2 separate regions of the Homo sapiens genome follow, and region 1 is linked to region 2. Evidence: promoter capture Hi-C in 16 types of primary human blood cells and fetal thymus (Javierre and others, 2016). All regions are on one chromosome and are shown on one strand. The core of a region is centred on a gene start or on the middle of the fragment in contact, and the rest is flanking DNA. Distances in the headings are between cores, read along the strand shown.

Region 1 (5,379 bases), core at 1-2,500, 420 kb before region 2:
CATCATAACCCAAATATGGGACAGGAGAAGAAAACACACAAACACAACTTTTCACATCCTTTTGGCTGGTCTGGCAGTTAACTGCTTTTCTCTTTCAAACTCCTTCTCTCGTTGCTGCTCCCTTTCCAACTCTTCTTTTTGCCTCTTCTGCTGCAGTTTAAGTGCTCTTTTCTGTGTTAAAAAAAAAATTTAAAAACCAAGAGAGCAATCAGGGGTTACAGGTTTAGCCTAATTTGAAAATAACAGTGCTCTGCTTTGAGGTAATTCATTCACACTAATAAACTTCATCTTGGACATTTAAATTTGGGATAATTTAAGGTCCCTTTGATTCAAAAAAATTTGTTGCTCTAAACTCTTATTAAATGAGAACTGTAGGGCATATCCAGAGAATCTAAGCCTATCAGCCCAGCTATTAGTAAAAATGCTCAGAGTGCAGTTGAAAAAAAAATGATATTTTTAAGGCTGCACGCAGTGGCTCATGTCTGTAATCCCAGCACTTAGGGAGGTCGAGGCCAGAGGGCTGCTTGAGCTCAGGAGTTTAAGACCAGCCTCGGAAACGTAGTGAGACCCTGTCTCTAATATTTCTTAAACAATGACATTTTTAAAAAGAAAACAATGTACCATGAATGAATTATGCTATTGTATATGAGGGTATAAAAGTCAAAATATGAATACTGGCCGGGCACAGTGGCTCACGCCTGTAATCTCAGCACTTTGGGAGGCCAAGGCAGGCGTATCACCTGAGGTCAGGAGTTTGAGACCAGCCTGGCCAACATGGTAGAACGCTGTCTCTACTAAAAATACAAAAATTAGGTGGGTGTGGTGGCGGGCACCTGTAATCCCAGCTACCTGGGGAGCTGAGGCAGAAGAATCGCTTCAACCCCGGAGGCAGAGGTTGCAGTGAGCCGAGATTGCACCATTGCACTCCAGCCTGGGCGGCAAGAGCAAAACTCCGTCTCAAAAAAAAAAAGAATACTGAAAAAAAAAAAAAACAACAAAAAACAATTAAACCTCTACTTTTGTAAAGAATGTGAAAGAATTTTCAACTCACTTTTAACTTTGATGTTTTTTCATGAAGCATCAGCATCTCTTTTCTTATATTCACCAACTTGGCATGATAGTGTTTAGCCTCAGCAAACTTAACATGGAAAAATAAATGAAAAGTCAAGTTAAAATAGACTAAAATATCAAAATGAATAAATAAGGCAATATATAAATGATAGTTTGTGCTTCCTAAATTGGTCAAAATTTTTACAGCCTTATCTTCACATTTTAATTCCAAAATAAAGATTTCCTTATATTGTTAGTAGGATTTGAAAGACATTTGATTTAGTTCAGATTGACAAAAGTGTTACTAAACATAAAATAGACATTTATATTAAGATGGGCATAGACAATATTTTGCTTTAAAAACATATAATTCTAAAATTTCAGATAAGACTATCTAATAATGCTATCAGTTTCATTTAAGAAAAGTAAAACATTCTCTCTGCCTTTACAAGAGACAGACTGAGCCAGAGCACATGAAACAGTTTAAGTGAAGTGTCTGCCCATAAGGAAAACCCAAACTGTGGCCACAGAGCCCTGGACAGAAAGGACTGTGGACAAGTTTAATCCATTCCTTGGGCTGCTTTAGTCAGACTAAGCAGAATGATCTCTGTGAGGACACTTTCCTTCTTGAGGAGTCTTAAGTACAGACTTTACAACTCAGCCAACCTGCATAATCTAAAATGAAGTCTTATGTCAGGAGAAGATGGGAGGATGATGCAAGCCTAGAGATGTCAGAGAGAAGGAGAAAAGCACCCTATTTTCAGACAAGGTTACAGAAAGAGAAGAAATGAAAGAAATGTCAGTAGAGAGATTCACAGCCTTAATGTAGCTGCAAGTAAAGTCATTGTCTGATTAGCTCAGAAGTTACAGTGCCTTTTTACATATCCTGGGCCTTCCAGTTTTCAGTTCCCAGATGATAATAAAAACTACTCTTGACTAAGAGAAGAAAAAAGAGGAAGACTCCATCCTGCCCCTTCAGACTAAAGCAACAGTATTACATCTGCTTGGTTAATTCATTCAACATTCATTCATTCAACAAATATTCCTTCTGTTGCAACAGGATTTCAGTGGGGAACACAAAAATAGGTCAGTGTAGCCTTGCCCACCTCCCTCGCAAGAAACCAGGAACTACTGGGCAGATGGCTCTGTATTTACTTCCACAGGCCTCTAATGCCAGAGAATATGAACTTTGTTTTTAATTGTTACAAATGGAAAACATTAGTAAACCATCTTTGTCCAAAGAAAAGTCCATTTTTTTGAGGTATGCATGAATGGCTACAGTCATGTAAACCCAGCTTCTTTTTTTCTTAATAGAGATGGGGTCTTGCTACGTTGGCCAGGTTGGTCTTAAACTGCACGCCTCAAGTAATCCTCCTACCTCAGCCTCCCAAAGTGCTGGGATTACAGTCATAAGTCACTGTGCCCTGCCCACAAACAAAACTATTTTTAATGTTCATCAGAAAATAAAGGTAGCAAAACAAGTTCCTTTTTTTGGTTAATTCCTTGTTTCTTATAATACAGAGTATCACTTCCTCTCATCAAAAAGCTATAGAACTTCTGATGAAATTCAACTGTTCAACTATTTATATTGAAAGATATAACTGATCATTCTCAAAGCGTCCACTTCAGCCTATAGCATTAATTTATTATAGCATTATGAATATGCCATATAATTAAATAAAATGCTAATTTAAGAAACCATGTAATTGGTAAAGAGAAATGCACTTTCTTTAAAGAAAAAAAAAATGGTACCCCAAAGGTTCATTACTTCCAGTTCGCTCTTTTTGTTTGTTTGTTTTTTGAGACAGGGTCTCCCTTTGTCACCCAGGCTGGAGTACAGTGGCACAATCACAGCTCACTTGTGGCCTCGACCTCCTGGGCTCAAGCAATCCTTCCACCTCAGTTTCTGGAAAAGCTGGGACTACAGGCATGTGCCACCATGCCCAACTATTTTTCTAAATTACTTTTTGTAGAGATGGGTTCTCACTATGTAGCCCAGGCTGGTCTTGAACTGCTAGGCTCAAGCAATCCTCCTGCCTCAGCCTCCCAAAGTGCTGGGATTACAGGTATGAGCCACTATGCCAAGTCTAAGTTCTCTTTTCTAAGTCTTCAATTATAAGCAGATCTATTCCAAATGCACAAATAAGTTAAATTTCCTACTATAAATTCAACATTTGAAAGATAACAATTCAACACAACAGAAGTTCAATCAAGGTTTCTTGTTAAAAAGACAAATTCTAAGCTTAAAATCTTAGCTATTGCTTAGCTAAGTCTTAGCTATTGCTAAGACAAGATGTCATTAAATTACATCAACTAAATCATACTTACCAAAGCATTAATATCCAACATAGAATGACATTCTTTAAATTTTGAAATCTCTTGTTCCAGTGTGTCTAACAATACAACTTGGTTCTGTCTGAAACAAAAACACACAGCCAAGACAAACTCTACATATTTAAAGTGCCGGTCCATTAAAAGGAATCATATTCATCTTGGTTAATGGTAACAGTTAGTTAAGTAGGAAATGTATTAACTCTCTAAGGTTTATTTAATATAGAATAAGATTTTTCAAAATAATATTCTAAAGCCACATTCTGATAACTAAATGTGTCTTTTATTCTTGCTTCAATTTCTAATAACTAAAATAATCCAATCATTTAAAAGTATTTTATTACTTGTTACTTTTAACAACTCTCTGTATTATTCCAAAAAAGAAGTTTTTTATAGTATTTTGCCCAAGAAGTTCAATGTTTTATATATCTTAAAATTGCAACATTCCCATAAAGGAAATGAGGAACAATGGTTTTTCAGATTAGAGGTGAGGAAGATGAAGTATCAAGGGATAGTAAGTCAAAAAGAATAATTAAGCAGTAAGATGAAAAAAGCACAGGACTGGAAATCATAGCTTTCCCCGGCCAACAGCCAGTTAGCTATATGATCTTAGAAATTCAGTTTATTTCTCTGGCCTAAATCTCCTCATTTACAAAGTGAGAAGATCAGACCAGATAATTTCTAATGTTTCTCATTACAATTCTAATTCAAAACTCATTGAGGAAGAGAAGCCAACTTCCTTGATATTTCTTTACACATCAATCAATGTTAGGATCACAGGAATAAGTGACATTAAAAGGGTCACCTACCTGAATATTTTAAAGAATGCTACAAAGAAAAATATGTCATTTGCTTGTAAAACTGTGCTATCTAGAGAATAATGATAAAAAAAAAAAAGAAATAACAACGAACAGGCTCAGGGCAATTACAACATCTCTACTATCCAGCACTGAGTCTGGCATACCCTACAGGTCATAAATTTGTCTCTTGGCTGGGCACAGTGGTTCATGCCTATAATCCCAGCACTTTGAGAGGCCAAGGAAGGAGGATTGCTTGAAGCCAGGAATTCAAGACCAGCGTGGACAACAAAGCAAGACCCTCTACAAAAACAAAAAAAACACACACACACACAAAAAATGAGCTGGGTGTGGTGGCACACACCTGTGGTCCGAGCTACTTGGGAGGCTGAGGCAGAAGGATTGCTTGAGCCCAGGAGTTAGAAACTGCAGTGAGTTATAATCACACCACTGTACTACAGCCTATGTGACAGGGTGAGACCCCATCTCTACAAATATAAATAAATAAATAAATAAATAACTTTGTCCCTCCAGCTTGGACTAGAGATCACAGAAAGTGAAATACAGAATGGATGAGAGGAAAACCCAGCAAGTCAACCATCTGAGATACACAGGACAGCAAAAATAGGCTGTTAGAACTAGAAAACAATAGAAGGGGGAAAACAAAAAAATCAATGAGACAAAAAGGTGGTTCTTTAAAAGATCAATAAAATTGATAAACCTCTAGTGAGACCAATCAAGAAAAAAAAACCCCAAAGTATTAGTATTATTCATGAAAGAGCAGTAATCACCACTGATCCCATGACATTAAAAGGATAATAAATGAATATTTTCAACAACTCAGTGCTCATAAATTTGATAATGTGGATGGAATGGACTAATTCTTTGAAAGATACAAACTACCAAAACTTATACAAGGAGAAACAAAAAGTTTATGTAGGCCTATATTTATTAGACAAATTGAATCAGTAAGTAATAACCTTCCAAAAAAGACAGTACCGGGACCAAACGGCTTCACTGGTAATTTTTACCAAACATTTAAGGAAGACGTGATACCAATTCCCCACAGTCTCTTCCAGAAAATATGTCAGTCCTCCTTTATCTGCAGTTTTGCTTTCTTCAGTTTTAGGCACGTACAGTCAACTGCAGCTGTGCTATATCATCACAAGAAGGGTAAGTACAGCACAATAAGATATTTTGA
Region 2 (5,638 bases), core at 106-2,605:
GAGACAGCTGCTTTCCCAGCAGAGCCAAGAGCAAATGTGTTGGTGTTGGCTTCAGGCCTACATTTATGGTGAGGAACTGGCTTTATTTCTTTCCTTTTCTTTTTTCTTTTTCTTTTTTTTTTTTTTTTGAGACGGAGTCTCACTCTGTCGCCCTGGCTGGAGTGCAGTCGCGCAATCTCAGCTCAATGCAACCTCTGCCTCCTGGGTTCAAGCGATTCTCCTGCCTCAGCCTCCCGAGTAGCTGGGACTACAGGTGCCCGCCACCACACCCGACTAATTTTTTTGTATTTTTGGTAGAGACGGGGTTTCACCGTGTTAGCCAGGATGGTCTCGATCTCCTGACCTCGTGATCCTCCCGTTTCGGCCTCCCAAAGTGCTGGGATTACAGGCGTGAGCCACCGCGCCCAGCCGGAACTGGCTTTATTTCTAAGACAAAAATGCCTAGCACTTGAGCATCTGAGCCTCAAGAGGATAAGGAGTTTGTGATAGACAACACTGGGACTGTTTCTAGACTTGATTTATTGACTTGTCTGTTTCCATTCTGTTACTAATCTGATTGACAATGAAGCCCGGGATGTGGCTGGAAGGGATTTCTGCGTGCGTGCGCATGCTATCGTCAGGGCCATGTGGGCCCGTTTGGAGCAGGTGCTCCCGTGGGTGGGGGATGTTTGAGCGAGGGCTGTTTGCGTGTGAGAAGGGCGTGTGTGAAAACGACACGGGAGAAGTGGGCGTCTCTAGGGAGTTGTTTGTATGTGATGTGAGATGTGTTTGCCTGGATCGGGAAGTAACGTAGGTTCGGGTATGTGCAGTGCGTACGGTTGGATGGGAGGAGGTTGTGGGGCTCCCAAGGTAGCACGGGAGGAGGAGGCTTACAGACACATCTTACAGAACCTAGCCCCTTTTCTTGCCCGCCTAGATTTTCCTCCTAGATTATAGTTTCCCAGTTGCGAGATCCTGGGAGAGGGAAGAGGAGAGGCGTAAGGCTCCCTAGAGTCAGGAGTCTGGGGGCTCCCCTCTTTGCGTCTCGCACGAGCTGGGAGCTGGGGAAAAGAACAGATGGGGATGGATGCGCTCCCCACAGGGGACCGCGTGGCGACACGTAAAGGATTCAACCTCAGTCCAGTAGTCGCATCCTCTGCCCCAGGGCTGCCCACTTCACTTCTTGCCTGTGCATACCGGCTGGAAGCCCGCGTACACTCTTCCGAGCTACGGGAGGAGGAAGACCCTGTTAGGGAGCGGAGCCCCGCCTCTCCCTTGTTACTGAAGCGCCCCGCCCCCTCCCCGCCCGGCGGAGCCCCGCCCCCCTCCCCACCCCCGCCCCCGCCCCCCACCCGCCGCTGCGCTCCCCTCGCTCAGTCTGGCTGGCCCCATGTTACTGAGCGGAGCTCCTCCGGCTGGCTCCCGCCCGGGGCCGCGAACGCAGGGGAGCGCTGGGGGCGGCCCGGGGGGGTCCCGCCGGGGCGCCGGGGGTGCGGGAGCCGGCCCAGGAGGGGGCGGCAGCGGCGGAGTAGCCAAGTGGCTCCGGGAGCACCTGGGCTTCCGCGGGGGGGGCGGCGGCGGAGGGGGCAGCAAGCCGGCGCCCCCCGAGCCCGACTACCGCCCCCCTGCGCCCTCTCCGGCCGCGCCCCCCGCGCCGCCCCCGGACATCCTGGCCGCCTACAGGCTGCAGCGGGAGCGCGACTTCGAAGACCCCTACTCCGGGGGGTCGTCCGGCTCCGCCGCCCTCGCCACCCCTGTCGCCCCCGGACCCACGCCGCCCCCGCGCCACGGCTCTCCCCCACACCGCCTTATTCGGGTCGAGACCCCGGGGCCCCCGGCGCCGCCTGCTGATGAGCGGATCTCCGGACCCCCCGCCAGCAGCGATAGGGTGAGTGCCGCGCCGGGCCGGGATGGCCAGGAGGGAAGGCGGTCAGGGGTCTGGAGGCTGCGAGAGGGACAAAGGTGGCCTGGCCCGGGCCCCTCGGTGTCTCAGCTTCTGGCAGACGCGAGCCCCTGACCCCGGGGTTCCGAGCCTTCACCCACCTTTGTTCAGATTCTCAACCGACTAATCTGAGACGGAAGCCCCAAACTCTGCCCCTCTGCCCTATCCTTTGTAATGGCCCCAGAACTGGTGACCCTCCCCCTCCCGGGCTGGCTCTCCACTTCGTAGCCCCCTCTAGCCTGATCCATGAGCCTTTTGCTAACGGGAATTGAGGCGCACCTCCCAACCCCCACTGGTTGATGGCCTTTCTGCCCCTCTGGAAGCAGCGGCTCAGTGCCCTTTGATCTCTGACCCTTCCCCCTGGGCATAGCCAGCACAAAGCTCTTCCCTCCTGTTGCCTCTTTGCTTCCTCCTCCTCTTCCTCCTCCTGTTTCTCCAGCCTAAGCATCCTTGCAGGTGCTGAAGCCCCAGAAAGGAGGTGAAGACGGGTTTCTCCTTGCGGACACAGCACGAGCTGGCCTTTGCCCTATAGGCTGTTGTTCTCAGGAGGCGAAGACAGGCAGCTTACAGCTCTTGCCAAGGGGGCTTCGTGGGGTCCAGGCCCACTCCTCCCTCCTTCCCTCGTCCTCTCAGGTATGAGGATAGTCAGTGCTCAGGACCTGTTGCCCACATGGGGCTAAGCAGCTGAGCCCATTCCTCCTCTCCTCCTGGCCTCCCTCTCCCCCTGGTCCATTCTGAGGGAGGCTGGAGCTTTTCCTGGGTCTGCAGGCACCAGGATAGGGAGGAGAACAGGAAATCCACCATGCCTCAGGGCCCTGCCCTGATTCGGGTTGGCCTTATCCCTCCCTGGCAGAGTGAGAGCTGAAAGCCATCCCAGGCCCCTAAATTCTGTGATGATGACTCTGTGGGCTGCCTTGGCTCTGCTGTCCTTCTTCACTCACCCCGAGAGCTCAGTTCTGGGGCCTGCCCCCTTCTCCTCAGCAGAGAAGAACATTTTTATTTGATTGGAGTGCAAAGTTGCTTTCCGAATCCGTTGGCTCCAGGATTGAGGCTTTTTAGCTGAGAGAGCGCCGTTCCGCCAGATTTCCTGGATGAGAGAGATCTGTCAGGGTCAGAGCAGAAGCCTCAGGAATGCAAATTATTTTTCCCCTAGTTTTTGCCATGGGGCATGGCTGCCCATCCTGGGCCAGGATACTTATTCTGCAGAGGAAGGTTCAAGGGCACTTCTCCAAGGCTGTGCTCGTCTGCTTCTTGTCCCCTGCTATTGTGTGATGTGATGGAGGTAGTGACAGTGAGACAGAGGAGAGGGATAGGCCCTGTTCTTCCCACTGACCAGTCAGTCTCCTCCTCTCTAACCACTGCCTGTTTGGCACAGGCAACATGGGCCTGAGCTGTCTTTGGCCCTTCTCCTCTCTACAGTGGCTTGGATGCCCTAACAGGCTGCCCACCAAGCCATGGGCTCCTCCAGGACACAGACCATGTCTTCTTGTGTCTCCCAAGTGCCTGACACAATGCTTGACATAAAAAAGGGTACATAAATATGTCCTGAATGGTGACTGTCCATTATCAGGGTGGCGTGAGGGTCGGAGACTCCCCTAGCCACAGCTTCCCTTGCACATTTTCCCAGACACCCCCAAGGAAGGGGTGCACCCACACAGTTCTATGCAGAGACTCACAGCCTCTTCTTGCCAAGGGCCTCCATGCCTCAGCTTGGGTCAGCTCTGTGATCTGTGTGCTGTTCAGACTTAGGGGCCAAGAGATGTCTGACTCCTTTGTCAGCTACAGGGACAGGAATGAAATCCAGCAGGCTCTCCCAGGAGCCATACAATCTGTGGTTTCTTTAATGGGTGTGATGAGAAAGACCCAGGATGCCATCTGAGTTGGCCCGGGGCAGGGATGCTATCTCTCTGGGCCCTGACCTGGGGCCTCCCACCATTTAGAGAGAGCAGCTCCCCACCCCTTTAGGAGCAGAGTTTGGGGTCTGAGTCTTCCCCTAGGAAAAGCTCAAACAAGGTACCTGAGTCCCTTACCCTAAACCTAAGAGATGCTGCTCCTGGATGTGAGCTGGCGCATGCCCCTGTGGCCCAGTGGAGCTGGTGTTTATGTACTATGTGGCCGCTTTCTCCCTGTTTTCTGTTCCTCCTTCTCTCAGGCCTTCTGGCTTGCTTTGAGGTCTCCTCCTGACATGTGATGAGGCCTGGGAACAGGGATGTGCTTTGTGCTGGCCTATTCTCTCCTCTGGAGCCCAGTGGCTGGGGCTGGGGGAGTCAGAACCCTCTGAGAAGGGATGGGTCATGAGATTTGATGAAATGGGTGGAGGTGTTTCTATGACAAGCCAGAGGGATTGAGCAGAAACCCAGTTAGTATGGGGGCAGGAGAGAACCAGGTCCTCGACAGTACCGAGAGGCCCAGGGGGTTCAGGACCATTAGCCTTCTCCCCATGTGGGGTTCTGGCTGCCAGCCCACCCTGGGACCCACTGCCGTAGTTGGCAGGGGTGCAGGGGTGGCCATCTGGGCAGGCCTGGCAGGGCAGGTGTGGGAGCAGCAGGAGCCGCGCCCTGCAACGGGCAGGCAGGGCCTTGCCATCTGGCCAGAGGAAGAGCTTCACGGTGCTGGGCCCTCGTCTGGCCCCCAGGCCATGCTCTGGCAGTGGGGGCTAGAGAGCTGGGCCCCTTGCTTTGCTCCCTTTTCTCAGACCTTTAGCAGGAAAAACCTGGTGTAATTAGGGAAGGGGATGGATATGGGAACAGGGCTCTGATTGGACAAAGCTCTCAGCTGCCTGTGACCATCTGTGCAGTGTGTCCTTTGCCTCCCTCATGCCAAGATACGTGTTTGGGGTTGGGTGGAGAGGTAACACGGACAATGAGACAGTCAGGCACCCTGGATTACAACCAGGGCTCTTCTTAGCTCATGGAGAGGTTCCTGGGCTTCATGAACCGCCAGAAATTGTGTGCAGATATTTCCTATTTTTCTGGGGAAAGGTATAGCTCTTAGATTCTCGTAGGGTTTCACAGGCCCCAAAATATTAAGAACTTTAAAAAATAGATGTACTTCATAGATGATATCCACAGGACTTGGGTCCTCCAGGCACAGATTTGGAAAGGAGTAAACAGACAGAGATAGGAAGAGTAAAGTGAGGGATACAGTCAGGGCATCTAAAGTTGAACAAAATATTCCTGCCCTGAGGTTAGGAGGATTGGTAGGGGCTGCCAGTCAATGTAAGACCATCTCTTAGCCAGTGTTCATTAAGTGTATGTCATTAGGCGCTGAAAGGGACACAGCACCTGGAAGACCTCATACTTGCCTTTTTGGGGTTTGTTTGTTTGCTTTAATGTTTCTTCTTAAGACTTCCACAGAGTCTGTAGATCCAGTCTGCTTATGTTGCAGATGGAGATAGAGGGAGGAGGAGAGTCTGGGGAAGGGAGGGAGGAGAAGGTAGGAGTCCAGGTGAAGGAACTTTTGTAGACTAGTTAAACCTCTTAAGCCTCTGTGGCCCAGGCTGGCCATCTGTGCTGCCGTTGCTGCTTTGAGGATGGCTGAGGCCTGCAGCTACTGGGGGATTGGATGGCAGGCCTGTCCACTCTACCCAGTGCTGTCACCCCACATTGTGGCACCAACTCTGTCTGGAAGACATCTGTGCTTCTTACCTTGGCCAGTGAGTGACTCAATGACAACTCAGCTCTGGCACTTTGCCTCTTGGGAGCCAGGAACAGCTGG

Evidence for each region. The method cuts DNA at HindIII sites, captures the fragments that hold promoters and counts their contacts. A CHiCAGO score of 5 or more calls a contact.
Region 1: a contact is called between a fragment that was not itself captured here and the fragment with the promoter of SHF in region 2, in 1 of 17 cell types (erythroblasts). The highest score is 6.0, in erythroblasts.

Annotation. Positions count from the first base shown.
Region 1 is chr15:45,601,187-45,606,565 of GRCh38, reverse strand. BLOC1S6 (biogenesis of lysosomal organelles complex 1 subunit 6) reads right to left here. Exons shown (of 5, transcript NM_012388.4): 3 at 3,379-3,466; 4 at 1,052-1,138; 5 at 1-171. The coding sequence ends at 52. Among named protein-coding and RNA genes, the nearest start is that of BLOC1S6, 16 kb to the right of the region's middle. The HindIII fragment of the contact is 4,089 bases long and covers 1-3,294 here.
Region 2 is chr15:45,183,683-45,189,320 of GRCh38, reverse strand. It overlaps SHF (Src homology 2 domain containing F), which reads left to right and starts at 1,355. Exons shown (of 7, transcript NM_001394037.1): 1 at 1,355-1,867. The coding sequence starts at 1,370. It overlaps LOC124903481 (a long non-coding RNA gene), which reads right to left. Exons shown (of 2, transcript XR_007064608.1): 1 at 2,863-5,638; 2 at 503-1,206. RefSeq lists a silencer at 1,411-1,460 and an enhancer at 2,375-2,927. The HindIII fragment of the contact is 22,026 bases long and covers 1-5,638 here.